Linked DNA regions of Homo sapiens: all the other regions are linked to region 4. Evidence: promoter capture Hi-C in 16 types of primary human blood cells and fetal thymus (Javierre and others, 2016). All regions are on one chromosome and are shown on one strand. The core of a region is centred on a gene start or on the middle of the fragment in contact, and the rest is flanking DNA. Distances in the headings are between cores, read along the strand shown.

The links. The method cuts DNA at HindIII sites, captures the fragments that hold promoters and counts their contacts. A CHiCAGO score of 5 or more calls a contact.
Region 1: a fragment that was not itself captured here is called in contact with the fragment with the promoter of STX1B in region 4 in 10 of 17 cell types (naive B cells, naive CD8 T cells, total CD4 T cells and 7 more); the score reaches 8.6 in naive B cells.
Region 2: a contact is called between the fragment with the promoter of ITGAX here and the fragment with the promoter of STX1B in region 4, in 1 of 17 cell types (monocytes). The highest score is 8.8, in monocytes.
Region 3: a contact is called between a fragment that was not itself captured here and the fragment with the promoter of STX1B in region 4, in 3 of 17 cell types (neutrophils, naive B cells and total B cells). The highest score is 6.8, in neutrophils.
Region 5: a fragment that was not itself captured here is called in contact with the fragment with the promoter of STX1B in region 4 in 3 of 17 cell types (monocytes, M0 macrophages and neutrophils); the score reaches 7.2 in monocytes.
Region 6: a contact is called between a fragment that was not itself captured here and the fragment with the promoter of STX1B in region 4, in 15 of 17 cell types (naive CD4 T cells, neutrophils, monocytes and 12 more). The highest score is 10.3, in naive CD4 T cells.
Region 7: a contact is called between a fragment that was not itself captured here and the fragment with the promoter of STX1B in region 4, in 2 of 17 cell types (monocytes and total B cells). The highest score is 6.4, in monocytes.

What each region holds. Positions count from the first base shown.
Region 1 is chr16:31,331,142-31,334,959 of GRCh38, reverse strand. ITGAM (integrin subunit alpha M) reads right to left here. Exons shown (of 30, transcript NM_000632.4): 29 at 3,685-3,795; 30 at 2,083-3,324. The coding sequence ends at 3,253. Among named protein-coding and RNA genes, the nearest start is that of ITGAX, 22 kb to the left of the region's middle. RefSeq lists a silencer at 3,403-3,482. The HindIII fragment of the contact is 184 bases long and covers 2,332-2,515 here.
Region 2 is chr16:31,353,911-31,357,844 of GRCh38, reverse strand. It overlaps ITGAX (integrin subunit alpha X), which reads right to left and starts at 2,669. Exons shown (of 30, transcript NM_000887.5): 1 at 2,554-2,669; 2 at 1,847-1,952; 3 at 1,117-1,220; 4 at 744-814; 5 at 481-592. The coding sequence starts at 2,590. RefSeq lists enhancers at 2,898-3,087, 3,278-3,407. The HindIII fragment of the contact is 18,983 bases long and covers 1-3,934 here.
Region 3 is chr16:31,293,658-31,297,312 of GRCh38, reverse strand. All of the region lies in intron 12 of ITGAM (integrin subunit alpha M), which reads right to left. Among named protein-coding and RNA genes, the nearest start is that of ITGAM, 36 kb to the right of the region's middle. The HindIII fragment of the contact is 613 bases long and covers 1,886-2,498 here.
Region 4 is chr16:31,008,557-31,012,327 of GRCh38, reverse strand. STX1B (syntaxin 1B) reads left to right here and starts at 1,690. Exons shown (of 10, transcript NM_052874.5): 1 at 1,690-1,961. The coding sequence starts at 1,932. RefSeq lists an enhancer at 1,153-1,654. The HindIII fragment of the contact is 27,284 bases long and covers 1-3,771 here.
Region 5 is chr16:31,400,925-31,404,344 of GRCh38, reverse strand. It overlaps ITGAD (integrin subunit alpha D), which reads right to left. Exons shown (of 30, transcript NM_005353.3): 6 at 2,100-2,230; 7 at 700-845. Among named protein-coding and RNA genes, the nearest start is that of ITGAD, 9.3 kb to the right of the region's middle. The HindIII fragment of the contact is 7,259 bases long and covers 1-3,420 here.
Region 6 is chr16:31,451,493-31,455,192 of GRCh38, reverse strand. No RefSeq gene overlaps it. Among named protein-coding and RNA genes, the nearest start is that of ARMC5, 6.2 kb to the left of the region's middle. RefSeq lists enhancers at 966-1,737, 1,738-2,510, 3,091-3,385. The HindIII fragment of the contact is 3,667 bases long and covers 61-3,700 here.
Region 7 is chr16:31,382,645-31,386,516 of GRCh38, reverse strand. ITGAX (integrin subunit alpha X) reads right to left here. Exons shown (of 30, transcript NM_000887.5): 30 at 3,518-3,872. Among named protein-coding and RNA genes, the nearest start is that of ITGAD, 8.8 kb to the left of the region's middle. RefSeq lists an enhancer at 3,409-3,872. The HindIII fragment of the contact is 1,492 bases long and covers 1,357-2,848 here.

The DNA of each region.
Region 1 (3,818 bases), core at 1,174-3,673, 320 kb before region 4:
CCAGCCTGGCCAACATGGTGGAACCCCATCTCTACCAAAAATACAAAAAAAAAAAATTAGCCAGACATTGTGGTGCACGCCTGTAATCCCAGCTACTCAGGAGGCTGAGGCAAGATAATCACTTGAACCCGGGAGGGAGAGGTTGTAGTGAGCTGAGATCACACTACTGTACTCCAGTCTGGGCGACAGAACAAGACTCCATGAAAAAAAAGAAAGAAAGAAAGAAAGAAAGAAAGAAAGAAAGAAAGAAAGAAAGAAAGAAAGAAAGAAAGAAAGAAAGAAAGAAAGAAGGAAGGAAGGAAGGAAGGAAGGAAGGAAGGAAGGAAGGAAGGAAGGAAAGAAAGAAAGAAAAAAGAAAGGAAGGAAGGAAGGAAGGAAGGAGGAAGGAAGGAAGGAAGGAAGGAGGAAGGAAGGAAGGAAGGAAGGAAGGAAGGAAAGGAAGGAAGGAAGGAAGGGAAAGAAAGAAAGAAGGAGAAAGAAAGAAAGAAGGAGAAAGAAAGAGAGAGAGAAAGAAAAGAGAGAAAGAGAAAGAAAGAAAGAAAAGAAAGAAACATTTTTGTCCAAAAACATGTCATCAATTTCATATGCTTTAACCCAATATCATAACAGTTAAATAACAGCCACCCTCTCCCCACACTCCCTCATGCCTGTTCTGGGGCCATTCCTCTGAGGCTGTCAGGACAGTAAAAGAGAAAAGCTTTAGACCTAGGCAGAGCTGGGATTAACTCCTAGCTCCATTCCTTCCCAGCTGTATGACCTCAGGCAACTGGTATGATCTATCTAAGCCTAGGTTTCCTCATAAGTGAAATTCATGTAAATACCAAGGACTGGTGTGAGGATTAGAGAGGATGTATGTTCAGGCCAGGCTAGTGTTTACTGTGTTTGCAAAGTATGAGGGACAGGCACTGGGCATCCTCCCTCTGAGGAAGCAGCCACCAAAATGTCACCTGCACACACCTTGGCAGCAAGTGCTCCTGGTGCCCTGACCTGAACCAAAGGCACCGTGTCAGGGGCTGTGTTCACCTGTCAAACATCCAGCCAGCAGCACTGGTATCACTTTCTCTGGCCACTAGAGCCCACTCTCCTCACACTCAGGGCAGGCCAGAAGTGGTAGGAAATTAACACACTCTCCCCACCAAGAGCAGCCCTCATCCAATAGCTAAGTGGAATCGGTGTCTATGCGCTCCAGCCTTCTCCCCTGGGTGGGGTGATACTGAGGTGCGTGTTCTGCACTGCCTCCGAGAACTGCCCAGTGGGGTGAAGCTCCAGGAACTCACAGCAGCTTCTCTGTGGGTGATACACCTGTTATTGGCAGCCTTCCCTTCCTCGGTATTTCCTGGAGCCATCTCTTTATTTTATTTTATTTTATTTATTTTTTTTTTTTTAAGATGGAGTCCTGCTCTGTCGCCCAGGCTGGAGTGCAGTGATGCAATCATATCTCACTGCAACCTCTACCTCCCAGGTTAAAGCAATTCTCCTTCCTCAGCCTCCCAAGTAGCTGAGATTACAGTTGCCTGCCACCATGCATGGCTAATTTTTTTGTATTTTTAGTAGAGACGGGGTTTCACCAAGTTCGACAGGCTGGTCTCAAACTCCTGAGATCAGGTGATCCACCAGCCTCGGCCTCCCAAAGTTCTGGGATTACAGAGGCGTGAGCCACTGTGCCCGACCTTTATTTTATTATTTTGTTTATTTTTGAGACAGGATCTCACTCTGTCACCCAGGCTGGAGTGCAGTGGTGCGATCATGGCTCACTGCAGTCTAGACCTTCTGGGCTCAAGTAATCCTCCTGCATCAGCCTCCGGAGTAGCTGTGACTACAGGCATGTAACACCAGGCCTGGCTAAATTTTTTTAATTTTTCGTGGACACAGGTTCTCACTATGTTGCCCAGGCTAGTCTCGAACTCCTGAGCTCAAGCAATCTTCACACCTTCACCTCCCAAAATGCTGGGATTTCAGGTGTGAGCCACCATGCCTGGCCTGCCACCTCTTAAATACGCTTGTTTCACCCAAATTCTTGGGTTTGCTTCTGGGAGAACCCAAACTTCCAGGAACATATCCTATAAATTATCCTTACATATATGCAAAAATGACATATATTTGATTTATTAACTCAGCATTGATGCAATAACAAGAGAATGAAAATAGTATATCAAAAGAAGACTGGTTAAATACATTATGGTACACTCACACAATGGAATACTATGCAGCGGTATAAAAGAATGAAAAAGTAATTTATGTCTTAATATGAACCGATGTCTGAGAAATATTGGTGAAAAAAAGCAAGATACAGACCAATATAAAGTATGCTACCATTTGTGTAAAAAAGCTTGTGTGTGTGTATGTGTGGTGTGTGTGCACACGTGCATACACTTGCACATCGCCTGGAATCTGTCTGAAGGAAACCTCAAAACACAATCTTGACTACCTTTAAGGAGGTGACTTGAATATCTGGAAAGGGAGACTTTTCACTGTACACTTGAATGCCTTGTGATTTTTGTACCATAGACAAGCTTATCCATCCAAAAAATTAAAGTCACATTGAAATAATAAATGAATCCAGAAAGGAAGCTTCATCATTCCTCAGTGGGCATCTTTATTGGGCATCAGCGCTGGTGTGGAGGAGGTTCCTGGTTCCACCCACGGCTTCTCATGGAGTCTCCATCCAAGCTGCGCAGGCTCCAGCAGGCCGCAGGCTCGCAGGCGACGGGAAGTCCCACTTCTTTCAGTGGAGAGAAGCTGCTGTGTTTCCCTCTGTCTTCACCCACAGGATTGACCGTCCCCTCTCCCGGAGGAAAACCCAGCAGCGGCTTCACCCACGCACAAGGGAGCCCAGGCAGTTCCCTTCTGCCGGAGAGGCTACGCTGCCGTCACCTACCCACACGCCAGAGACATCTGAGTCACACACGTGAGCCACACGCCCCTGAGCACACACATGCACACACTCGCACACATGCACACACTTGCACACACATGGACACACGCACACACACTTGGACACACTCACATACTTGCACACACTCACACATGGGCGTGCAAGTGCACATGCACGCACACGCACACATGTGCACACACTTGCACACAGACACTTGCACACACGCACATACACACTTGCACACACACAAATGGAAGCCCAAGCCCGTCCTGTCGGGGATACTTCGCTGTCCGACGTGTCCAGCAGCCTGGGGGCTACGTGTGGTCTGGGCAGAGTCCTGCTGGCCACCGAGAGGCAGCTCTGTCGGGAAGGAGCCGCTACTGGGGTTCGGCCCCCGGGGGACCCCCTTCACTCATCATGTCCTTGTATTGCCGCTTGAAGAAGCCGAGCTGCGGGGCAGAGGAGGGCAGTGAGAGCGACAGCAGCCAGGGAGCGTGCGGCTCCGCAGACCAGGGGGAGGGGGCGGGAGGGCCGGCAGAGACAGAAGGGACCCAGGAGGGCGGGGCGGGAGGGGAGTGACATCCGCGTCGGGGCCTGGAGAAAAACAGAAACTACAAGGAGGGCGACTCGTTCTCAGCGCGCCCCGCGCATGAACCCGGCCACCCTCCCTAAGAGACTGAGGCGCAGAGAGGCTCCCAGACTCGCCCCAGTCACACAGCTGGCAGCCCCGCCGGGGAAACCGAGGCACGGAGCTGCAGCGCGAGGCCCGAGAGGATGAAGGGAGGGGGTGGGGGAGCAGCGGGGAGCACCTTGTACAGCGCGGCGGTGATGAGGGCCAGGAGCAGCAGTCCCCCGACAGAGCTGCCCACGATGAGCGGCAGGGGGTTGGGGACCTCGAACGGCTCCACTTTGGTCTCCGTCTGGGGGAGGAAGGAGGGGCGTC
Region 2 (3,934 bases), core at 1,420-3,919, 340 kb before region 4:
ATACATATACACACATGTACACACACACACGTTGCTCACACTGCACTTTCACTGACCTTTCCTAAACTACGGCACAAACCAATTGGTCATATCCCAGGACCCATTGGATGAAAATAGATCCTCTCCTCTAAAAATAACAACAGCTGGCCTTCATGGGGCTGTCGCCTGGTGCTAGCTGCTGTGCTAACCCCTGGCCATGAATCATCCTGTGTTGCTTTCAGTGCTGGGTGTGTTATTATCCCCATCCAACAGATGAAGAAACTGAGGCTTGGAGAGGTTAAGGTCACAGGAAAGGTCCGGCAGCGTGCGGGCGATCGGCAGGATGTGCGGGCAGCAGCGTCAGGAACCACTGCAACACGTGGTAACTCTTTTTCCAGATCCCTTCTTTCTGATCCACTCTGGCAAGACTGTCTCTAGCCCACCGCACCCCCAATTGGATGTGCGTGAGCTCCTCAAAGCCTTGGTGGTCCCGACACTCACCCTGCCTGGACACCGGGAGCCTCTGGGTGAGCTGGGTGGGGCCCAGGAGGAAGCAGAGTCCGGTGAGGTACATGTTCCTCCCGCACTCGTGGTGCACGGTGGGGCCGCAGGCCTGGGGACACAGCGGGCTGCTGGGGGGCTGCCCCTGCTTCCTCCCACCCTCACATTCCGGAACCTCCACCCTACAGGAGACTCCCAGCCCCCCGCGGCCCCGGCTCCTCCCTCCCTCCCTCAGAAGCCTCCTGTGACCCAGGGCCACTCACCAGCAGCTGGGAAGGGCTGGTGGTAGACGCCAGGGACAGGCCCAGGGACATGTTCACGGCCTCCGGGGGCACTGTGGGGACAGATATGTGCATGGTCACTCTCGGGGGTACAGAGAAGGCTGTGGAAGAGCTGGGCAGGGGTCACCTCCACCTGGGAGACAAGGAGGTCTGACGGTGAAGGAAGCTGTCGGGTCTTGACAGAGCTGCGGGAGTGCGATGGGCGGGGAGGCCTTAAGGGGCCAGGAAGCATATCTGAGGGTGAGGGTCTCAGACACAGTGGAAGCTGAAAGTGACACTCCGGTGAGTCCACGGGCCCCTGGAGCAGGGAAGCCTGGGAGCCCGGCCCTGGGTCCCGGGAGGGGCGGTGACTCACCCTGCAGGCCGATGGGCTCACAGGCACCAGTGCTGTAGCCACACTGGTAGAGGCCACCCGTTTGGTTGGCAGCTGTTATCTTTTGGGGGGCTCCAACCACCACCCTGCGAGGAGACAAAGAACACTTTAGGTAAGAGTGTGGACGCTGCAGCACAGCTGCCACTCCGGCAAGTTTGCGTTCCCTCCCTGAGCCTCAGCTTCCTCATCTGCAAGATGGATTTTAATAATTTAAAGTCCATGTGGAAGGGATTTCTGTCTGTTGGATTCTCTGGCGTATGGAGACAAGAAATATTTGTTGAGTCTGGGTGTGGTGGCTCACACCTGGAATCCCAGCACTTTGGGAGGCTGAGGCGGGAGGATTGCTTGAGCCCAGGAGTTTGAGACCAACCCAGGCAACATAGTGAGACCCTGTCTCTATATATTTTTAAATGTATAGAAAAAAAGAAAGAAAAAACAAATAAGTGTTTGTTGCACGACTGATTCCTACTCACAGGCTGTCGTGTGGACTAAATCAGCATCCACCTGTGATGAGCCTGGCACTGCACTTACTGCTCTGTAAATGTTAGCTGTGAGACCGTGCCTGCCTTCAAGGCAAATCTTCATTAGCCAGGGCAGTCGCTACACCAGACAGAGAGGAGAGTTTGCAAATAACAGGGCAGGGCCGGGGGCATGGGGCCCTGAGCAGGGAGAGGATGGATGGAGCCAAAGGCCAGCACCACCTGGGCCTCACCAGGAGTTGGCATACTGGACCACGCTGTCTCCAAACCCAGCGCTGTCCACACGGAAGGCTGTCAGCTCCTCTGTGTCCAAGTTGAAACCTAGAGAAGTTGCTAAGGCTGGGAAAGAGGTGGGAAGAGAGCTTTGGAGAAGGGTCTTCCTTCTGCCTGGCTGCCCTCCACCCCCGGCCCCAGCGTCCCAATCTCCCCTCCGAGCCTGATGCCCGGGGTGCCTGGGTCTTCTGGACACCCAACTCATCCCCTTCTCTCCTTCCCAGGGTCCAGGGATGCCCCTTGCCCACCATCCACTATCGAGTTGCAGTTCTCCATTTCTGCAGAGCAGTACCCAGGCTCTAAAAAGGATCTTTCCCCAACGTGCACCTCGGGCGCTATGAGAGTGAGTCCAGGAAAACTTGCGGACCAAAGCATCCTGTCCACAGAGCACAAGTTGGCGCATTCTGCCTATTTTAAAAATCTCTGCAGTACAGAGACAACTGGCCTCTCTTCCAGCATCTCTGGAACTCTCCCAAAATTGGTTCATCAATATCCTCTCCCTCCACAAACTCCAAATCTCAGACCCTATGTGCCTGCCTCCCCCTCAGGCTTGACTGAGTCTCTCTTCCTACCCAGATCCTAACCCCCCAGCCTGAGCCCCCAGTTCAGGGCCCTGGCTCCCTTGGGCCTGGGTCCCCAGCCCTACTTCATTGGGGTCCAGGCTCACCTGTGAACAGGAGGAGTGCTGCCCTGGTCCTGGTCATGACTAGAAGGTCAGATGTGGAGCTCTGAGCTCCTGGGCCGTTGCAGGAAGAGCTGGACCAAGGTACTGAGGAAGCAAGTGGGCAGAGAGGTGGCCAGGGGAAGGAAGAAGATTGTCAGCATGAGTCAGAGGGGGCGGGCAGAGTACGCAACTGATCCGAGGACAGGCTCGGCCTCCCACACGCCCCCACCCCCCAACCGGAGTCACTCTCATCAGATGACTTGGCTTGATGCCCTTTGCTTAGATGGATGCAAATCCCTGCCCTGCCCCTCCCAGGCTCACCCTTGACTGCCAGAAGGCACCCCTTGACCTTGAAATTTCAGCCAGACTGGAGGGGGTTTGGGCAGATGCCAACCCCTCAGGACCCTAAAGGAAACCCTGGTGGGAGCCCTCCACTCTGACCTGGAAAGTCTGGGCCAAGGAGTGGGGCATCCGGGTCCCTAGGAGGAGCACAGAGCGAGTATTTGTTCATTCATTCATTCACTCATTTATTCATCATTTATTCAAGAAGCCTAATTTGAGCCTGGAGATGCAAGCCCTCTGCTAGGTGGGGAAGAAAATATAAACCACAAAGCACCAGCCCTGGGGTCAGTGGAGAGGCAGATGTATAAACAGCAAGTTCATTGCTGTGAGGGGGAAGCACAGAGACCACAGGGTGCCTCACCCGGGTTGTGAAGGTGTGGCTTTCTGAGAAGGCTTCCTGAAAGAGGTGGTGCTTGAGCTGAGCATTGAAAGCAACCAAAGTTGGGAGATGACAGAGCAGCCAGACATGGATGAGGCAGGGGACAGGAGGGTCTGTGTGTGAAATCAGCAATGGGAACCAGACAGTCAGGGTGGGAAGTTGTAAGAGACAAGGTCAGGGCCACTGGGAGGAAAGCAAGGGGAAGCAGGCCTCAGGCCGTGGAAGCCCCCCTAATGTACATCAATTTTTTTTTTTAATTTCAGAAACAGGGTCTTGCTCTGCCACCCAGGCTGGAGTGCAGTGGGTGCATAGTTCACTGCTGCTTCGAACTCCTGGGCCCAAGGGATCCTCCTGCCTCAGCCTCCTGAGTAGCCAGGACTATAGGATTGCACCACTGCACCTGAATATATATATATATTTATATATATATATTTTTTAATTTTAGTAGAGACAGAGTTTCCCCATGTTGGCCAGGCTGGTCTCAAACTCCTGATCTCAATCAATCCTCCTGCCTCAGCCTCCTAAATTGCTGGGATCACAGGTGTGAGCCACCACACCTGGTGAAGACACATTGATTTTGTCCTGAGAGTGGAGGACAGCATTGAAGGGAATTCATGGGGACTGAGATCTTCACATTTTCATTTTAGAAAGTGGGTTATATGG
Region 3 (3,655 bases), core at 943-3,442, 280 kb before region 4:
TGCCTGTAATCCCAGCTCCTCGGGGGGCTGAAGTGGGAGGATCCCTTGAGCCAAGGAGTTTAAGGCTGCAGTGAGCTTTGTCACCACTGCACTCCAGCTTGGGCAACAGAGCAAGATCCCAATCTCTAAGTGTATATATATATTTTTTAATAATTTAAAAGATAAAAAATAAGCCTATAGTAGAGTCAATGGGCAGTGAGTGAGGATTTACTCCAGGTGGTATTCCTGGGAGATTATTAAGGCAGCAAAGAAGAATTTGGGTTGGAAAATACATAGAAAATTCTAGAAGAGAAGACAGAATACCACCCTTTCAATATATTGGGAATCTTTAGGGAGGTAAAAAGTCAAAGTTGGCACTCTGACTAATAAGGCTAATAACTGGCTTAGATTAAAAATAACTATTTGTTATTTGAATATTTGTTGTGATATTAAGAAATATCTTCAAGGTCAATATGTAGAATTCATCCATAAAATTCACCTATTTAATCATACATTCATTCATTCATTTATTCATTCATTCAACAAACAAGTGTTTCTTATTGCTAAGCACACAGCTGGGTAATAGAGATACAGTGCCTTCCAGGGCCCTCAGTGCAGCCAGGTGGAGGAGAGGAGAGTAATCAATGGATTAACAGGGAGATGTGTATAGCAATTTCAAACTGGGACAAGTTCTAGAAAGGGAATGTGCAGGGGACATCATGCCACGGCTCTGCAACGTGATTTCTGCCTCATACACCATTGAGGGAAGACTCATTGATAACTGAATACTTTATCCTAAAGTCAACAGAATTTGATTGTTTTTTAGGTCAGATTTATTGGGGAAGAGTTTACATACAATAAAATTCAGCCTTTTAGTACATAGTTTTATGAGTTTTGACAAACATATAAAGTCATATAACCGGCCAGATGCAGTGGCTCATGCCTGTAATCCCAGCATTTTGGGAGGCCAGGGCGTGTGGATCACCTGAGGTCAGGAGTTCGAGACCAACCTGGAAATCATGGTGAAACCCCATCTCTACTAAAAATACAAAAAAAAAAAAATTAGCAGGGCATGGTGGCGGGCGCCTATAGTCCCAGCTACTCAAGAGGCTGAGGCAGGAGAATGGCGTGAACCTGGGAGGTGGAGCTTGCAGTGAGCCGAGATAACGCCACTGCACTCCAGCCTGGGCAACACAGAGAGACTCTGTTAAAAAAAAAAAAAAAAAAGATAAAAAGATAATAACCATGATCAAGTGTGATTTATCCCTGGGATGCGAGATGCAAGGATGATTCCACATATGCAAATCAATTAATGTGGCATATCACATTAACAGAATGAAGGACTAAAACCACATGATCATCTCAATATACGCAAAAAAAAGCATTTGACAAAATTCAACATTCTTTTATAATAAAAACTCTCAATAAATTCGCTACAGAAGGAATGTACCTCAATATGATAAAGGCCATATACGACAAGCCCACAACAAACATCATACTCAATGGTGAAAAATTGAAAGCTTTACCACTAAAATGAGGAAAAAGGCAAGAATGCTCACTCTCACTACTTCTATGTAACATAGTACTGGAAGTCCTGGTCACAGCAATTAGGCAAGAAAAATAAATGAAAGAGACCCAAATCAGATATAAAAAAGGAAATTTGTCTCTGTTTACACTTAAAATGATATATATATAAAAACATATATATATAAATATATTTTTAAAAAACCCTAAAAACTCCACCAAAAAAGAACTACTAGAACTAATGAATAAATTCAGTAAAGTTACAGGTTACAAAATCAATGTGAAAAATCAATAGTGCTTCTATACACTAACAATGAACTATCTGAAAAAGAAATCAAGAAACAATCTCATTTACAATAGCATCAAAAAAAATACCTAAGCTTAAATTTAACCAGAGAGGTGAAAAACATGTACACTAAAACTATAAAACATTGATTAAGGAAGTTAAACAAGACAAAAATAAATGGAAAGATATCCTATGTTCATGGACTGGAGTATTAATGCAATCTTCTGATTCAGTACAATCCTTATCAAAATCCCAATGGCATTTTTTTACAAAAATAGAAAAAAAACTAAAATTTATGTAGAACCACAGAAGACCCTAAATAGCCAAAGCAATCCTCAAGAAAAAAAATACTGGAGGCATCATAATTCCTGATCTCAAAACATACTGTGTCAAGAAAGCTCTAGTAAGCATAACAGCAAGGTGGTGGCATAAAAACAGACACATCAACCAATGGAACAGAACAGGGAGGCTAGAAATAAAACTATGCATTTATGGTCAATTGATCTTCAATAAAGGTGCCAAGAATATGCAAAGGAGAAAGGACATTCTCTTCAACAAATGGTGTGGGGAGAACTGGATATTCATATTCAAAAGGATTAAATTAGACCTTTATCCCAAACCATATACAAAATCAACTCAAAATGGATTAAAGACTTAAACACAAGACCTGAAACTGTAAAACTACTAGAAGAAAACAAAGGGAAAAGCTTCTTGACAATCAAGCTTCTGAGAAATGATTTTTTGGATATGACCCCAAAAGCACAGGCAACAAAAGCAAACCAGACAAATGGGGTGGCATCAAACTAAAAAGTGTCAGCTTAACAAAAAAAGAAAATTTCAGGCCAATATTCTTGATGAACACTAATGCAAAAATCCTCAACACACTACCTGCAAACCAAATCCAGCAGCACATCAAAAATCTAATCCACCATGATCAGGTAGGCTTCATTCCCGGGGTGCAAAGTTGGTTCAACATATGCAAATCAATAAATATGATTCATCACATAAACAGAACTAAAGACAAAAACCACATGATTATCTCAATAGATGAAGAGAAGGCTTTAATAAAAGTCAACACCCCTTTATGTTAAAAATTCTCAATAAACTAGGTATTGAAGGAACATACCTCAAAATAATAAGAGCCATCTACAACAAACCCACAGCCAACATCATACTTGATGGGCAAAAGCATTCCCCTTGAAAGCCAGCACAAAACAAGGATGCCTTTGCTCACTAGTCCTATTCAACATATTATTGGAAGTTCTAGCCAGAGCAATCAGGCAAAAGAAAGAAAAAAGGGCATACAAATAGGAAGAAAGGAAGTAAAAAAGTCAAACTATCCCTGTTTGCAGACAACATGATTCTATATTTAGAAAACCCCATAGTCTTGGCCTAGGAGCTCCTTCAGCTGATAAATAACTTCAACAAAGTTTCAGGATACGAAATCAATGTACAAAAATCACTAGCACTCCTATACACCAACAAGAGCTGGGAGCCAAATCAGGAAGGCAATCCTATTCACGATTGCCACAAAAAGAATAAAATAACTAGGAATACAGCTAACCAGAGAGTTGAAAGATCTGTACAGTGAGAATTGTAAAACACTGTTCAAAGAAATCAGAGATGACACCAAAAAAATGGTAAAACATCTCATGCTCATGGATAGGAAGAATCAATATCATTAAAATGGACACACTTCCCAAAGCAATTTATAGATTCAGTGCTATTACTATTAAGCTACCAATGACATTCTTCACAGAACTAGGAAAAACTATTTTAAAATTCATATGGAATCAAAAAAGAACCTGAATAACCAAGTCAATCCTAAGCAAAAAGAACACAGAAGGAGGCATCACATTACCTGAC
Region 4 (3,771 bases), core at 441-2,940:
ACAGCCACCTCCTTGAGGTCCCCACGTCAGCGCTAGCCATGCCCACTGTAGTCATGGATCTACTCATGGCTCTGGTGGCATCTTCAATCTCTGTCTTCTTGGTGCCCAGCTCAGAGCTTAGGCATATAGTAGGGGCTGTCTTACAGGGGGAGGATCTGGCTCGCAGGTACAGATGTGGGCACTGCAGACACGGAGGTGCAGAAAGATGCAGGTAAAGAAGGAAGAGAATGCCAGGCATGGTGGCCCAGGCCTGTAATCTCAGCACTTTGGGAGGCTGAGGCAGGAGGATCGCTTGACCCTAGGAGTTCAAAACCAGCCTGGACAACATAGTGAGACCCTGTCTCTACAAAAAATAAAATTAGCCAGGTGTGGTGGCGCGTGCCTGTAGTCCCAGCTACTCAGGAGGCTGAGGTGGGAGGATCACTTGAGCCTGGGACGTTGAGGCTGCAGTGAGCCGAGATTGCACCACTGTACTCTAGCCTGGGCAACAGAATGAGACCCTAACTCAAAAAAAAAAAAAAAGAGAGAATGGACGGAGCCCAGGGAACCCTGAGGTTGAAGGGCTGTGGGAAAAAAGGTAAGGACCTGGAAAGAGGCTGGGAGACAACACTCACAGATCAGGTTGGGGGGTAGGTGGGCGGAGCACCACAGACAGGAGGGTTTCAGGAAGAGGGGCTCATCAGGGTCACATGCTGCTGAGAGGTCAGGGATGGTAAGGCCCGACTGGCGGTGTGGGATGAGGGTTTATCAGACACAGATTTGGCACCAAGGAGGTCACTGGGTACCTGGCAAGAGAATGCCGGGTGCGGTGGCCCAGGCATGGAATCCCAGCACTTTGGGAGGCTGAGGCAGGAGGATCGATTGAGAGTCAAGACCTGTCCCATTGGGGACCGGCGCCCCATTGCAGGGGGTGGGAGGAGCTGGTGTGGTGTAAGGATGGGGAGAGGAGAGGTGGGCATCAGAACAGGAGGTCACTCAGACCCTCAGGGGCACCTGATTTCCCCTCCCACTAAGGACAAATTTCATGTTCAACAGTCAGAGCCATCTGCAGATGGGCCAAGAGGTCCTGGGAGGTAGTGAGCACCCTGTCCCTGGAGGCAGACAAGCAGAGCTCCGAGACCCACCGCGGCGGGAGAGGCCCAGGCTGTGCAACACAAGCCCCGTGTCCTTCTCAGCAAGCACCTGGCTGGTTCCCTGCATCGTAAAAACCACACAGAGGGTCGGTCTTTCTATTTATAGTGTCCAAAGAGCCTCCTGCAAGAACACACATGGGCTCGCACCCAGAGGTGGTCGGCGCGCAGCCTCACGCAGACACCAGACACAAAACACAGCCGCGATCTGTGTCTCCTGGAAAGGGATCCACATCCTGGCTCCCAGGTTATTCCCTGAATTCATTCCGTCACCCCCTCTTTCCGCCGGGCCACCCCACCCCCCGGGCCACCCTAGCATCTCCGCTTGGCTCTCCGCATCTCTCCCTGCTCCTCGGGCTCTGCCCACCCCCACCCGCCTCCAGGCCTCTCCCGCCCCCTCCTCGGGTGTCCCCCAAGCCCGTGACTACAACCCCCAGGCGCCCCCGGCCCGGGTGCTGCGCATGCCCCCTGCTCCTTGCGCGCTCCCGCTCCCCCCGCCCTCGCTTCCTCCTCACCTCCCTCCGCCCCCCTCCCCCGCGCTCGGCTCCCGCATCCCTCCATCCTACCCTGTGCCGCAGCCGCATCGCCACCGCAGCCCGGCAGAGCCGAGCCCGGCCCAGGCCCCTGCCCCTGCCCGGCCCTCGGCCAGTCGCCCCCGGCCCCGCCCCCGCCCGCAGGCCCCCCGCAGCGGCCGCGGCGCCCCCCGGCGCCCCCAGACCCCGGCCTCCGGCACAGAGGCGGGAGACCCGGAGCAGCAGCAGAGGCAGGAGGACTAGGAGGAGGAGGAGGAGCCGTCGCAGGATGAAGGATCGGACTCAAGAGCTGCGGAGTGTGAGCTTGGGGGTGGGGAGAATGGGGGGGCGGGACCCCAATATTGGGGGAGCGCGTGGGGATGGAGTGGGGGAGGTGCTGGGACGTGGGGGCGAAGGATGAGATCGGAGGTTGGTAGCCGGAGCACCCCAGTATCTTCAGGCGCCTGATGTCTCTCCAGTGAACCTGCATTTTGGGGACAGTGCCTGGAAGGGGTTGGAGGCCATGAAGACACAAGGGGGCAGGAGAGGTCTCAGGGGCCTCGAACACCCCGCATTCCCAGGAGGGCCCCGGGGTCTGGTCTGGGGATGGGAGAGAGTGGATATCAGGAGAAACCGGAGGAGACTGTCATCCCCTGGGCAGGTTTGCCAAAGAGAAGCATGGGGGCGGTGACTGGGCCAGGCTGAGAGTCTAGCAGGACCCAGATTCAGGGGATGCTACGGGGAAGGACACAGGTTGGGACTGAGATGCCAGCACCTGGCAGTGAATGAAGTGTGTGTGTGTGTGCACACGCGTGTGTCACTCCCTATAGGGAGGGGGCATCTCTCCGAGACAGGGAGGGAAGAGGTGGCCTCCGGAGAGAGCCAGAGGGCCAGGGCCTGAGACAGGGTGACCCAGAGGTGGGAGATGGGGATGCAGAGGAGAGGGCCATGGAACACGGGCCGTGCTCTGCTTGGGGGAACTGGGGCACCCCGGGCAGTCAAGGGCTGATGCAGGCCCCAGGTCTGCAGGCCTGAAGAGGCCCGGCTCCAAGAGTCTGGCCAGGCAGTCCCTGGTTTTGGGGGGACAGGGGAAGGACTGCAGTGGAGGCTGCTACCTGGAGGAACTGGGGAGTGGGGTTCGATGAGAATGGTTTCAGGGGCAGGGAGGACGCTGGGGTATTTGGAGAAATGACCTGGGGCCCGAGGAGGCAGCACTGACAGTCCGCACTGTGCTGGGCTGGTGGTGTTATGTTAATAAGGGTACCGGCCCCGGCTGAGCTGCCCAATGCACTGAGCCTTTACAGGGAACTGGTGGGTTGTTACCCCAGGGGTTATTACCCCACTTGACAGATGAGGAAACTGAGATTCAGGCGTGGGAAGGGACTTGTCCAAGGTCACCAAGCAAGTGGGTGGGGGGCAGACTGCAATCTGGGTTTCCTGTCTGCTAGGTTGACACAGGTCTCTGCTTTTCTGGCCTTTGAAACAGAAGTTTCAGCACTGGGGGTGAAGAGCTGTCCCCTGGATTTGGGGGTGGGGACCCAGGTTACAGACAGACGAGAAGAAGGTGTTTGGAGGCAAGTGACCGCTGTCTCTGGGGACAGACAGGTTGCCAAATGGGAAGCAAGGAGGAGCTGGTGGCTGAGGGAGGGAATTTTAAAGGTTTCTTTATTACATTTTTACTGAATATACACTCAGGCATGAGGAAAGTGACAGTAATAATAAACATTGTTTGAAGTGTTTTATGCATATTCACTCATTTTGATCCTCACAGCAATCCTATGAGACTGGTTATCTCATTTCATAGATATATAAATATCTTTTTAGATATATAGATATATGTTATCTCATTTTATAGATAAGGACACTAAGCTCAGAGAGGTTAAGTAATTAGACCAAAGTCACACAGCTGGTAAAGGCAGGATTCAAACCCAGGCAGGCCGGCTTCAGCATCGGTGCTGTCAATTCCCCTCCTCAGTTTGCAGAGCAGGCTTTCATCCGTGATGTCATTAGAGCCCCACTGACCTCCTGGCAAGTGGACGGGGAGGCTCTTTCATTTTAGAGTTGGGGAAACTGAGGCCCAGAGTGGTTGAATAACTTTCCAAAGGTCACACAGCTAGCAGGTGAGGGAT
Region 5 (3,420 bases), core at 281-2,780, 390 kb before region 4:
CTCCTTCCTACAAGAACCACATGCCTTTCTCGGGGGTCCCACCTCCTACATCGTTTTAGGAATAGACTGCATGTGCACGGGGCAGGCCCACGGTGAGTGCCTGGGTAGCACAGGGGGTGCGCAGGGGTGAGGGATGCGGGAGAGGAGGTGAGTGGGGAGAAAGGCACCAGGACGACCTTGGGTGACAATTCCTGAGTCCCTGACTACTCCATTCTCTGATAAAACCTCAGGCATTTATCCGACACCTCCTACGTGCCCCGGGCTGAGCACCCCACACACATGATCTCAATCCTAAGCTGTGAGCTTATCTTCATCTGAGAGTTACTGAGACTTAGAGCCCATCACCCCAGGGTTACACCCAGAGTAGCTCACGGGGAGCCAGGATGGGAGCCTGATGTGTCTGAGCCAAAGCCCGGGCCTCTGGCTGCTGTGGGGTGGGGAGGGGTCCTGGGGTCCAGGCTCTGCAGAACCAGGCAAAGGGGAGGCATAGCTGCAGAGGAGCCTAGTCCTATATCAGGGAGACTGGCAGCGAGGCAACCAGGAGCACCCCGGGGGGAGGTTCTCCCTGCAGCCCCGACATGCCCCTTGGTAGCCCCTTTCCCTGGAGCCTCCCTCAGCCTCTGAGAAGAGCTGTGCTGACCCAGGGTTAGGAAGTGGGGGTGGCAGTCACATCGCCAGGCTGGGGTCGGGGTTGCTTACACCACTGTCAGGATGCCCGTGGCCGTGAACGTCAGGCCTTTCAGTTGGACGATGGGATCCACCAGGCTCTGCTGGCTCGGGCTGGTCCGGAATTGGGTGAAGGTGAAGTGGATCTTCAGGAGGTTTGAGTACTGCATCAGTGCAAACTGCAAAGGCCAGTGGGGAGGGCCCAGGGCTCAGTGCCTGTTACTATTGTTTTTATTTTAATTTTTTGTAGAGACAGGGTCTCTCAAACTCCTGGCCTCAAGTGATCCTCCTGCCTCAGCCTCCAAGTAGCTGGAACTACAGGCACACGTCACATGCCTGGCTTTGTTTTTTGTTTTGTTTTGTTTTTGGTAGAGACAAGGTCTCACTATGTTGCCCAGGCTGGTCTCGAACTCTTGGCCTCAAGCAATACTCCCACCTCAGCCTCCCAAAGTGCTGGGATTACAGGTGTGAGCCACCACACCAAGCCATATTGTTTTCAGTTTTAATAAACTTTATTTTGGAATTATTTTGGATTTACAAACCATTTCCCATGTGTTTTGAAGCCCTACAAATAATATACTGAAACCCAGAGAAGAAAATTCATTGGCCCAAAAATACAAAATATAAACTGGAAAATCTAAACCAAATGATATTTCCTTCACAGTTTATTAAAAATAACTTTGCCAACCACAATATTTGCTACCCTTAGCTTTTTAAAAATTTTATCACACATTAAATCAATTTGTGTATTTCCTCCCTTCTCAAGAATTTGTGGCTGGGCGTAGTGACTCATGCCTGTAATCCCAGCACTTTGAGAGGCCAAGGTGGGAGGGTTGTTTGAGCCAGGAGTTGGAGACCAGGTTGGGCAATATAACAAGACCCCATCTCTACAATAAAAATTTTTAAAAATTAGCCAGGCATGGTGGCATGCACCTGTAGTCCCATCTACTCAGGAGGCTGAGGAAAGAGGATCACTTGAGCCTGGGAGATCAAGTCTGCAGTGAGCTATGATTGCACCCCCACACTGCAGCCTGGATGACAGAACAAGACCCTGTTTAAAAAACAAAACAGTGGGGTTTTTTTGCACATACATAGGCACTAGTTATGGGAAAATAAAATAATAAAAAGAAATCATTAGTTACATAGAAAATATGTCAGTCAAATTCCATAGCAAAATTATTTTTTAAACACTTTCAATGTTTTTAAACAGCAGAAACATTGTATTTCCTGTAGCTTTTGGATACATTATTAAATGCCAAGAGGGCCTCCTAGGTCAGGGCTCAAGTTGGGCCTGTGCTGGGACCATAGCTTCATTCTCCACCCCAGCCCCATCACACACGGCTCACTGGCCTGCCCCCACCCCTCCCGGGATGCCTCCCCGAGGCCAGCCTCCCCCGTCCCCCAAACCCCAGCCCCAGGTGCCCAGTCTTCACCAGGGTGTCAGTGCCCTCAAACTGGCCCATGACAGCTTGGACAAAGCCCTTCATCTGGTTAAAGTCATTTTGGTCAATGCTTCCAGAGCCGTCAATCAGGAAGACGATGTCCATCTCTTGATGTGGACACTCTGTGGGGGAATGGGGAGGAATCGGAGATGCACTGCGGGGGCCCAACCCCCTCCTGCAGCTCCTGCTCAACAGAGCCCGGGGGCTGTTCTTGGCATCCCCACCTAGTTTCCGACCCCTCCTTGGAGGAGGCCCCAGTCTGCCACCCCAGCCCCCTGCTCCCTTCCTCCCACATGGCCTGGAAAGAGAGGGATGACAACACAGGACCCAGGTGGGCTCCTCATCCATTTAATCAACAAATATTCATTAAACACAGATGCTAGGGGTGCCACAAGCATCAAGGGCGAATGTTTAGCAAAGTGGTTCAGGGCGCGTGTTCTGGAGCCAGTGTGCCTGGGCTAAACCCCAGCTCAGCCACGTGCTAATTGGTGAATTCAGGCACATTACTTAACTTCTCTGGACTTCAGTGTCCCTATCTGTAAAATGAAGGTAATATCAGTGGCTACCACGTGGGATCACTGCAAGGATAAAGCAACACGCACATGGGTGCTGGAGACAAGTCCTGGCCCTCTGCCAGGGTCAGCCGCTGGCACCATTCTCACCACGTGCCAGGCACCTTCGAGGCCTGTAGGATATGCCTGTAGGGATGCTGTGGGGGTGGGGCAGGGATCCACCCCAGACCCCACCCTACCCCCAGTCGGTCAGAGGTCCTTATTTCCAGCTACGTGGAGTTGGCTCTGAGCTGAGTCCCTTCCCAGGAATCACGCTAGGCAGAGGGGAACTGTTGCCCACTGGGACACCTCCTGCCCCTGGAGGAAACCTTTACCGATGACTGGTTCAGCGTCTGAAGGGCCAGCTGCACTCTGAGCCCCCCAGGCATTGGCTGAGGCCTCTGGTTTTTTCATTTTTTGTTTTTTTGAGGCAGAGTCTCACTGTCACCCAGGCTGGAGTGTGGTGGTGTGATCACAGGTCAGTGCAGCCTCGACCTCCCCAGGCTCAGGCAATTCTCCCACCTCAGTCTCCTGAGTAGCTGGGACTACAGGTGTGCACCACCTTGCCTGGCTAATTTTTGTATCTTTTTGTAGAGACGGAGTTTCGCCATGTTGCCCAGGCTGGTCTCAACCTCCTGGGCTCTAACGATCCACTCACCTCGGCCTCCCAAAGCACTGGGATGACAGGCAAGCACCCCAGTGCTGACCTTGGGCCTCTGTTATGATTGCATTGCATCCACCCTTCATGCTCCCATGGGTGC
Region 6 (3,700 bases), core at 645-3,144, 440 kb before region 4:
CCATGTCCTGCATCCACTGTACCCTGTGCTGGGTTTAGAAGTAGCTTCACTGTCCAAGCTTGTGACCCAGTGCCCAAGCCCGAGATGGGAAACACATTTGTTTTGGCTGTGTGTGTGTGTGTGTGTGTGTGTGTGTGTGTGTGTGTGTGTTTTCAAACAAGCCAAGATTTTTACTTTTTGAGTTCCATTTTGTTGCCCAGGCTGGTCTCTGAAACTTCCAGGCTCAAGCAATCCCCCTGCCTCAGCCTCCCAAAATGCTGGAATTACAGGTGTGAGCTACCATGCCCATTTATTTATTTATTTATTTATTTATTTATTTTTGAGACAGAATCTCACTCTGTCATCCAGGCTGGAGTGCAGTGGTGCAATTGTGGCTCACTGTAGCCTCAACCTCCTGGGCTCAAGTGATCCTCCCACCTTAACCTCCCAAGGAGCTGGGACTACAGGCATACACCACCACACCTGGCTAATTTTTTGATTTTTAAAAAATGTTTTGTAGAGACGGGGTCTCACTGTGTTGCCCAGGCTGGTCTTGAACTCCTGAGTTCAAGTGTTCCTCTGGTCTCAGCCTCCCAAAATGCTGGGATTACAGATGTGAGCCACCTAACCTGGTCTTTTTATTTTTTTAAAGAGCCAACATTTAAATAAGGAGATTTCACATCACAGTCGATTTCTGGGGCTTGGTTTGTTGTTGTTTTTTTTGTTTTTTTTTTTTTTTAATTGAGACAGGATCTTGCCAGGTTGCAGACTGGTCTTGAACTCCTAGGCTCAAATGATCCCCTCCTGGCCGGGCACGGTGGCTCACGCCTGTAATCCCAGCACTTTGGGAGGCCTAGGTGGGCGGATCACGAGGTCAGGAGATCGAGACCTTCCTGGCTAACAAGGTGAAATCCTGTCTCTACTAAAAATACAAAAAATTAGCTGGAAATGGTGGCAGGCGCCTATAGTTCCAGCTACTCAAGAGGCTGAGGCAAGAGAATGGCATGAACCCAGGAGGCAGAGCTTGCAGTGGGCGGAGATCCTGTCACTGCAATCCAGCCTGGGTGACAGAGCAAGACTCCGTTTCAAAAAAAAAAAGAAAAGATCCCCTGCCCCGGCCCTTCCCTCCCCCACCCACCTCGGCTTCCGAAAGTGGTAGGATTACAGGCGTCAGTCACCACACCCGGCCTGCTTTATTATTTATATCAGAAGATGCTGCAACATTGGATTTTTATGGCAGCAGTTCGTTGAGTAGTGGCTGTCCTGGACATAGGAACAGGGACACTCCCTCTTGCATCCCTGACTCAGCACGTTTCATATGTGTTACTTGCCTGTCCCCTGCAGAAAAGTACTTGAGGTTACAGTCTCCATCCCACCCCACTGTGGGTGAGAAGGACCTTTCCATGCAGTGAAGGCACTTTTCCCCTTTCCTTCACCCCTTCCTGTTCCCTTCTCTGCCGTTTTCCTTCTTCTCCCCCAGAACTCCTCTGTGAAATACCTGGCCTCCTTCCCTGAGCCTCCCTGTCTCCCTGCCACCCCATCTCCACTCCGTGCTATGACATCACCCCGTAATTTGAAGCTCCTTTCCCTATCTGAAGGGAGGCAGAGACAGAGTGCACAGGCTCAACTAGGCAAGGCAGACCCTTGCATGCCTGGGTCAGAGGTCAGGGTCTCTGGCACACATTCCTCCCAGAGCAACTGTAGGAAGCAAGCCAGTACAGAGGTACTCTAAGCGCTAGACAGGACGGGGTGGGAGTCGGTAACATCGTCTCCTCTGGGCTGGCCCTGCTTCTGCTTAGCTCTGGGCATAAGACTGACTCCAGTACAGTCACAGTTATGTCTCTGAGCTCACCCAGTCCTGGGTTCCAGGTTCCCAGCTCTGAGCCTGGCGAGACACACACAGGCTGGTGCTGTGGGATGTCTTGGTACGGTGGCTCACGCCTGTATTCCCAGCGCTTTGGGAGGCCGAGGTGGGCAGATCACCTGAGGTCAGGAGTTCGAGACCAGGCTGCCCAACGTGGTGAAACCCTGTCTCTACCAAAAATATAAAAATTAGCCAGGCATGGTGGCACGTGCCTGTAATCCCAGCTACTTGGGAGGTTGAGGCAGGAAAATTGCTTGAACCCAGGAGGTGGAGGTTTCAGTGAGCCAAGATCGTGCCACTGCACCCCAGTTTGGATGAAAGAGTGAGACTCCGTTTCAAAAAAAAAACAAAAAAAACAAAACCAAAAAATAAAAAAACACATCAGCTTGACATTTTGGAGGCATTCCCAGACTCAGGGTTAGTCAGCAGATTAGCATTTAAAAGAAAGTCTTGTCCCTACAGATTCCCTGACCTCAGCTACCCATGAAGGGTGGGAAGAGGAGTCCTTAGCAAGAAGTCCAGGAAGTTGACAACCTCCTCAGACCTGATAGGACACTCCTCTCTCCACCCTGCCTCCTGACTGATTTAATCTCAGGGGTGTGAGGACCTCTGAGATAGGCCCCAGGAGTCTCACCCGCACCACTTATGTCTCAGGGCTAACCAGAGACTCCCTGAAACAGATCCTAGAGGATTCCCAAGTGATAGGATAAATAGAGAGGTACTGAGACTTCCTGGCGTGGGTGACCTCTCCCAGGCTGGCCAACCTCCCCCATTCAGAAATTTGCTGAGCACCAGGAGTGAATGAAGTAAAGGAAGCCCCTAGGAGTTCAAGAAGCAGAGATTTCCAGGTCCATGCACCAAAGCTCATGTGCTCAATTCTCAGGAAAGGCCTCACTCAGTTAAAAAATTTTGTATCATGAAAGGGTAAATGAATTAATTAGTGAATCTGGTTTCTAAGCCAATGGCTTACTAGAAATATTATAGTAAATCAGAAAAAAAAAAAAAGGCGGTGGCTCACACCTATAATCCCAGCACTTTGAGAGGCTGAGGTGAGAGGATGCTTTGAGCCCAGGAGTTCGAGACTAGCCTGGGCAACATAGCAAACCCCATCTCTAGAAAAAATTAAAAAACCAGCCAGGTGTGGTGATGTTCACTGTAGTCCCAGCTATTCAGGAGGCTGAGGCAGGAGGACCGCTTGAGCCCAGGAATTTGAGACTGCAGTGAGCTAGGATTGTGCCACTGCACCCCAGCCTGGGCAACAGAGTGAGACCCTGTCTCTAAAAAAATAATTTTTTTTAAAGATAATTCTTCAAAGGAGATCCGCTCTTCCTTTCCTACACCCATTCCCTTTCCTCCCTTTCCTGAACAATGCTGTCTTACAGCCTCTAGGGGCAGGCAGAGCCAAAGAGGCCTCTGCCGGGTGTGGGGAGTGAGACGCAGCAGGCCAGAGCATGTATCAGAGCTCCAGCAGGTGGGGGAGGGTGTCCACACGAGAAGGTGGCCTGGCTTGGCATGGCAGAACCTGATAGGATTAGGAAGGCATCAGCCACGGGAAGGAGATGGCGAGAGAGATAAGAAACTGCTTCCACCAGCTATTGGTCAAATAAGTACACATTTGAAAGATAACAGCCAGGTTTCTCAGTGTCAGAGAAAACCGAGACACAGCTCGGGAAAGGGAGAAAATGTGGGTGGGGAGACCCTTGTGGTGTCGAATTGGAACTGGAGGTATAGGAGTAGACTCAGGATTTTCAGAAAGTGTTTAGATAGACATAGAAATTAGTATGGGTGTGTATATGTGTATGTGCACGCAGATGTGTGTAAATGTCCATATATTCCCTAGCTCTGGAAAGCCCTGGA
Region 7 (3,872 bases), core at 853-3,352, 370 kb before region 4:
AGCTGAAAAGCTCCCACATACATGTGTTGCACAAAGATGAAAGCTGATTCAGACTTTGTATGGCAGTGACTTATTCCAAGTATGAGGTGACATGCTTGCTCTCCCACACAAGCGTTAGTCACTGCTATTCTGCTGTATACCTCTGACATACACAATGTCCAAGCTGTTCCTTCACAAAGGAATCTTGCTCACAGCATAGTCTTCAAGCATAGTATTTGCCAGACACTGTAGGTAGCCTATCCAACAGCCACCAGCGCTGCCACCTTCCTGGCTGGTGGAGCTACCCTCCTTTTTTTTTCTCTTTTTTTTTTTTTTTTTGTTGAGACAGAGTTCTACTCTGTCCCCCAGGCTGGAGTGCAGTGGCATGACCTCAGCTCACTGTAACTTCCACCTCTCAGGTTCAAGCGATTCTCCTGCCTCAGCCTCCCAAGTAGCTGGGATTACAGGCACCTGCCACCATGCCCAGCTAATTTTTGTATTTTCGGTAGAGACAGAGTTTTGCCATGTTGGTCAGGCTGGTCTCAATCTCCTGACCTCAGGTGACCTACCCACCTCTGCCTCCCAAAGTGCTGAGATTATAGGCATGAGTCACTGCACCTGGCTGGAGCTACCTCTTTTTATTAAGCCTGTGAAAAGCACATGCTCACCTTCTCAGCACTGCATGCAACCAAGGGGATGGAATTTGACCCAATCCTAGTCAGTGGGAAAGAACTAAACCGCCCCCGCAAGGACGATCAATTGGAAGATCAGAAAGAATCTGTCAATGCTGAGACTCTGCATTAAACACTAACCTGCACCTGAACCTCTTGCAGAGTAAAGGTCTTCTGTCTGCTCTTACATGCTTTTGTTTTTTTCTATTATTTGCAGCCAAAAGCAACCTTTCAATACAGGTATGAACTCTACTGCCATTTCTACAAGCTTCTTGGAAATTATGTGACTTGTACCTACTTTTGCTACTTTAAAAAGCACCTTTGATTTATGTCACTGTGGTTTTGCTGTCTCCTCTGTATTCGGTGACAACACTAATCACTTTTGAATAGGAAAGCTACATGTAGCAGTTGTTCTAAGAAATCTCTATTGCTTTACCTGAGGCAGGCAGATCATGAGGTCAGGGGTTCGAGACCAGCCTGACCAACATGGTGAAACCCCCGTCTATACTAAAAATACAAAAATTAGCTGGGCGTGGTGGTGCGCGCCTGTAATCCCAGCTACTCAAGAGGCTGAGGCAGGAGAATCACTTGAACCCAGGAGGCAAAGGTTGCAGTGAGCCAAGATGATGCCACTGCACTCCAGCCTGGGCGACAGAGCAAGACTCCATCTCAATAAATAAATAAATAAGAAAATAACACAAAAGCTTTCAGAGGTTCATGCGACTGTTTGATAAAGTTTCAGAATGGGCAGCACACTAGGGACAAATACATGTCAGAACCAATACAACCTACCTGTCAGGGAGTATAATACCTTCTAGATATTTTCGGGTTTTGGCTCACAATCACTTATTCCGGTATGCATGTCTATACTATACGTGCACTGGGCTCAATATTTAAAAGTCAATATTGACTTTGATGACATTATTGTAAATTGTAGCAATTAGATTAGTTTTTAATCACAACTTCCATGCTTTTGAGCCATTGATCCATTTTGTGATTCGGGGATCTAATGCAACACAATAGCCAACCCTGAAAATGCAAATGTAATAAATGTACACAATAACACACAAAGGAAGAATATCAGAAAATAACACCTTGTCGGCCAAGTACAGTGGCTCATACCTCTAATCCCAGCACTTTCGGAGGCCGAGGAGGGCGGATCATGAGGTCAGGAGTTCGAGACCAGCCTAGTCAACATGGTGAAACCCCATCTATACTAAAAATACAAAAATTAGCTGGAAATGGTGGTGCCTGCCTGTAATCCCAGCTACTCCAGAGGCTGAGGCAGGAGAATCGCTTGAACTTGAACCTGGGAGGCGGAGGTTGCAGTGAGCCAAGATCATGCCACTGCACTCCAGCCTGGGTGACAGAGCGAGACTCTGTCTCAAAAATAAATAAATAAAAATGGGCATGGTGGTACGCCCCTGTACTCCCAGCTACTTGGGAGGCTGAGGCAGAGGCATCACTTGAACCCAGGAGACAGAGGTTGCGTTGAGCCGAGATCGTGCCACTACACTCCAGCCCGGGAGACAAAGTGAGACTATCTCAAAAAATAATAATAATAAAATAAAATAGAAAATAACAACTTGTTGCCTGAATTTAGACAAGAACCCACTGTAGTCCCTGGAGTCCGTGTGCCACACAATTATTAAGGCCACAACACTATTTCTGTGCAAATCACTAGTTTCAAATGTTTGAGATGTATGGGTTTCTTGCTCTTTTTCTCTAAAACCTTCCACTTAGAAGACCATCATTGACCACCAGTGGTTCGTGGAACACATTTTGAGAAACACCACTCTAGGGTCAATTTTTTTTTTTTTTTCTGAGACATGATCTTTCTCTGTTGCCCAGGCTGGAGTGTGGTGGTCCAAATCACAGCTCACTGTATCCTCAACCTCCCAGGCTCAAGTGATCCTCCTGCTTCAGCCTACCAAGTAGCTGGGACTACAAGCACATGCCACCATGCCTGGGTAATTTTTAAATTTTTTTGTAGACACAAGGTTTCAATATATTACCCAGGGTGGTCTCAAATTTCTGAGCACAAACAATCCTCCTGCCTCGGCCTCCCAAAGTGCTGGGATTACAGGCATGAGCCACTGTGCCCAGCCATTAGGGCTGAATTCTTACAAAGCCTTATCTTCTGATTCCCTTTCTGAGGAAACTGCATAATAATTAGTCATCCTGGGGACTCAAAAGCTTCAAAATCCACAGGGATTTTGGAGCCTCTGCTGATGTATAGGACAGACATTTTTGGCTGGAGGTAAAGGGCCACTTTCCATCTTCCCTTCAAATCACTCAACTGCCTCCCTTCTGTTTTTCTAATTGAAACATCCACACGGCCCGGGTCCCTTGCTGGTGATAGCTGCAGTGGCGTCACTCCGAGGTCAGGAATGGCTTGTCCTGTGAGGCCCCCAGCTCAGTGCCAAGCACCATGATGAACTTTATGCCAGGATGGTGGCATAATAGCAAGAATGACCTTATTGTGGGCAGCAGCTCTCAATGTGGGACCCCAACATGTTCTTCAATCACTCACTATATGCAGACAGTGTGCCCTTCAACACATCCTAGGACTTGTAGGAAACGCTTGTGAGTATTGGTCACTCCAGAGACCTTTCCAGGTGGAAAAGTAGCCACTGGAGGTTGTCCCTTCTCTATTCTATGCCCCCTCCACCCGACAGCTCCACCAGCTTACCATCGGCACCAGCCCTGAGAGTGGAGTGAGCAGATTAAGAGGTCAGGTTACTTCCAAGAGAGGGATATTCACAACCCTACTCTGGTTAACTTCTTGTCCTGGCCCCAGGCCTCAGTGCTGGCCAGGGTCCACCGTGGTAAAGGGACCCCATGGGTGTCATCCTTCAGGACTCATATCCACAGAAGGCTTTTTTATTTTTAGACCTTTGACATATTTCCCAAGAGCGGTAGATGCATCTTTTTGTGCATGTTTTAATTTATTAACACAAACATTTAAAGTACGCTTTTTAAAAAAATAATCATGTCTTGGCATTTTTTCAGGTACTATATTCATAGCCTCAAAAAATAGAAGTGGTTGGGTCTCTTCTGCCCCTGGGGCTGGGTGAGCTGCAGCCGCACCGGGGCCATGTCCCTCCCTAGAGGGCGCTCCTCCCTTCCAGCCAGCAATGTTGCCCAACGCGGGAGGCCAGCTGTGCAGAACCCAGCATGCAGGCATCTCACTCCCAATTCAGCCTGGGAAATCGGAACTGA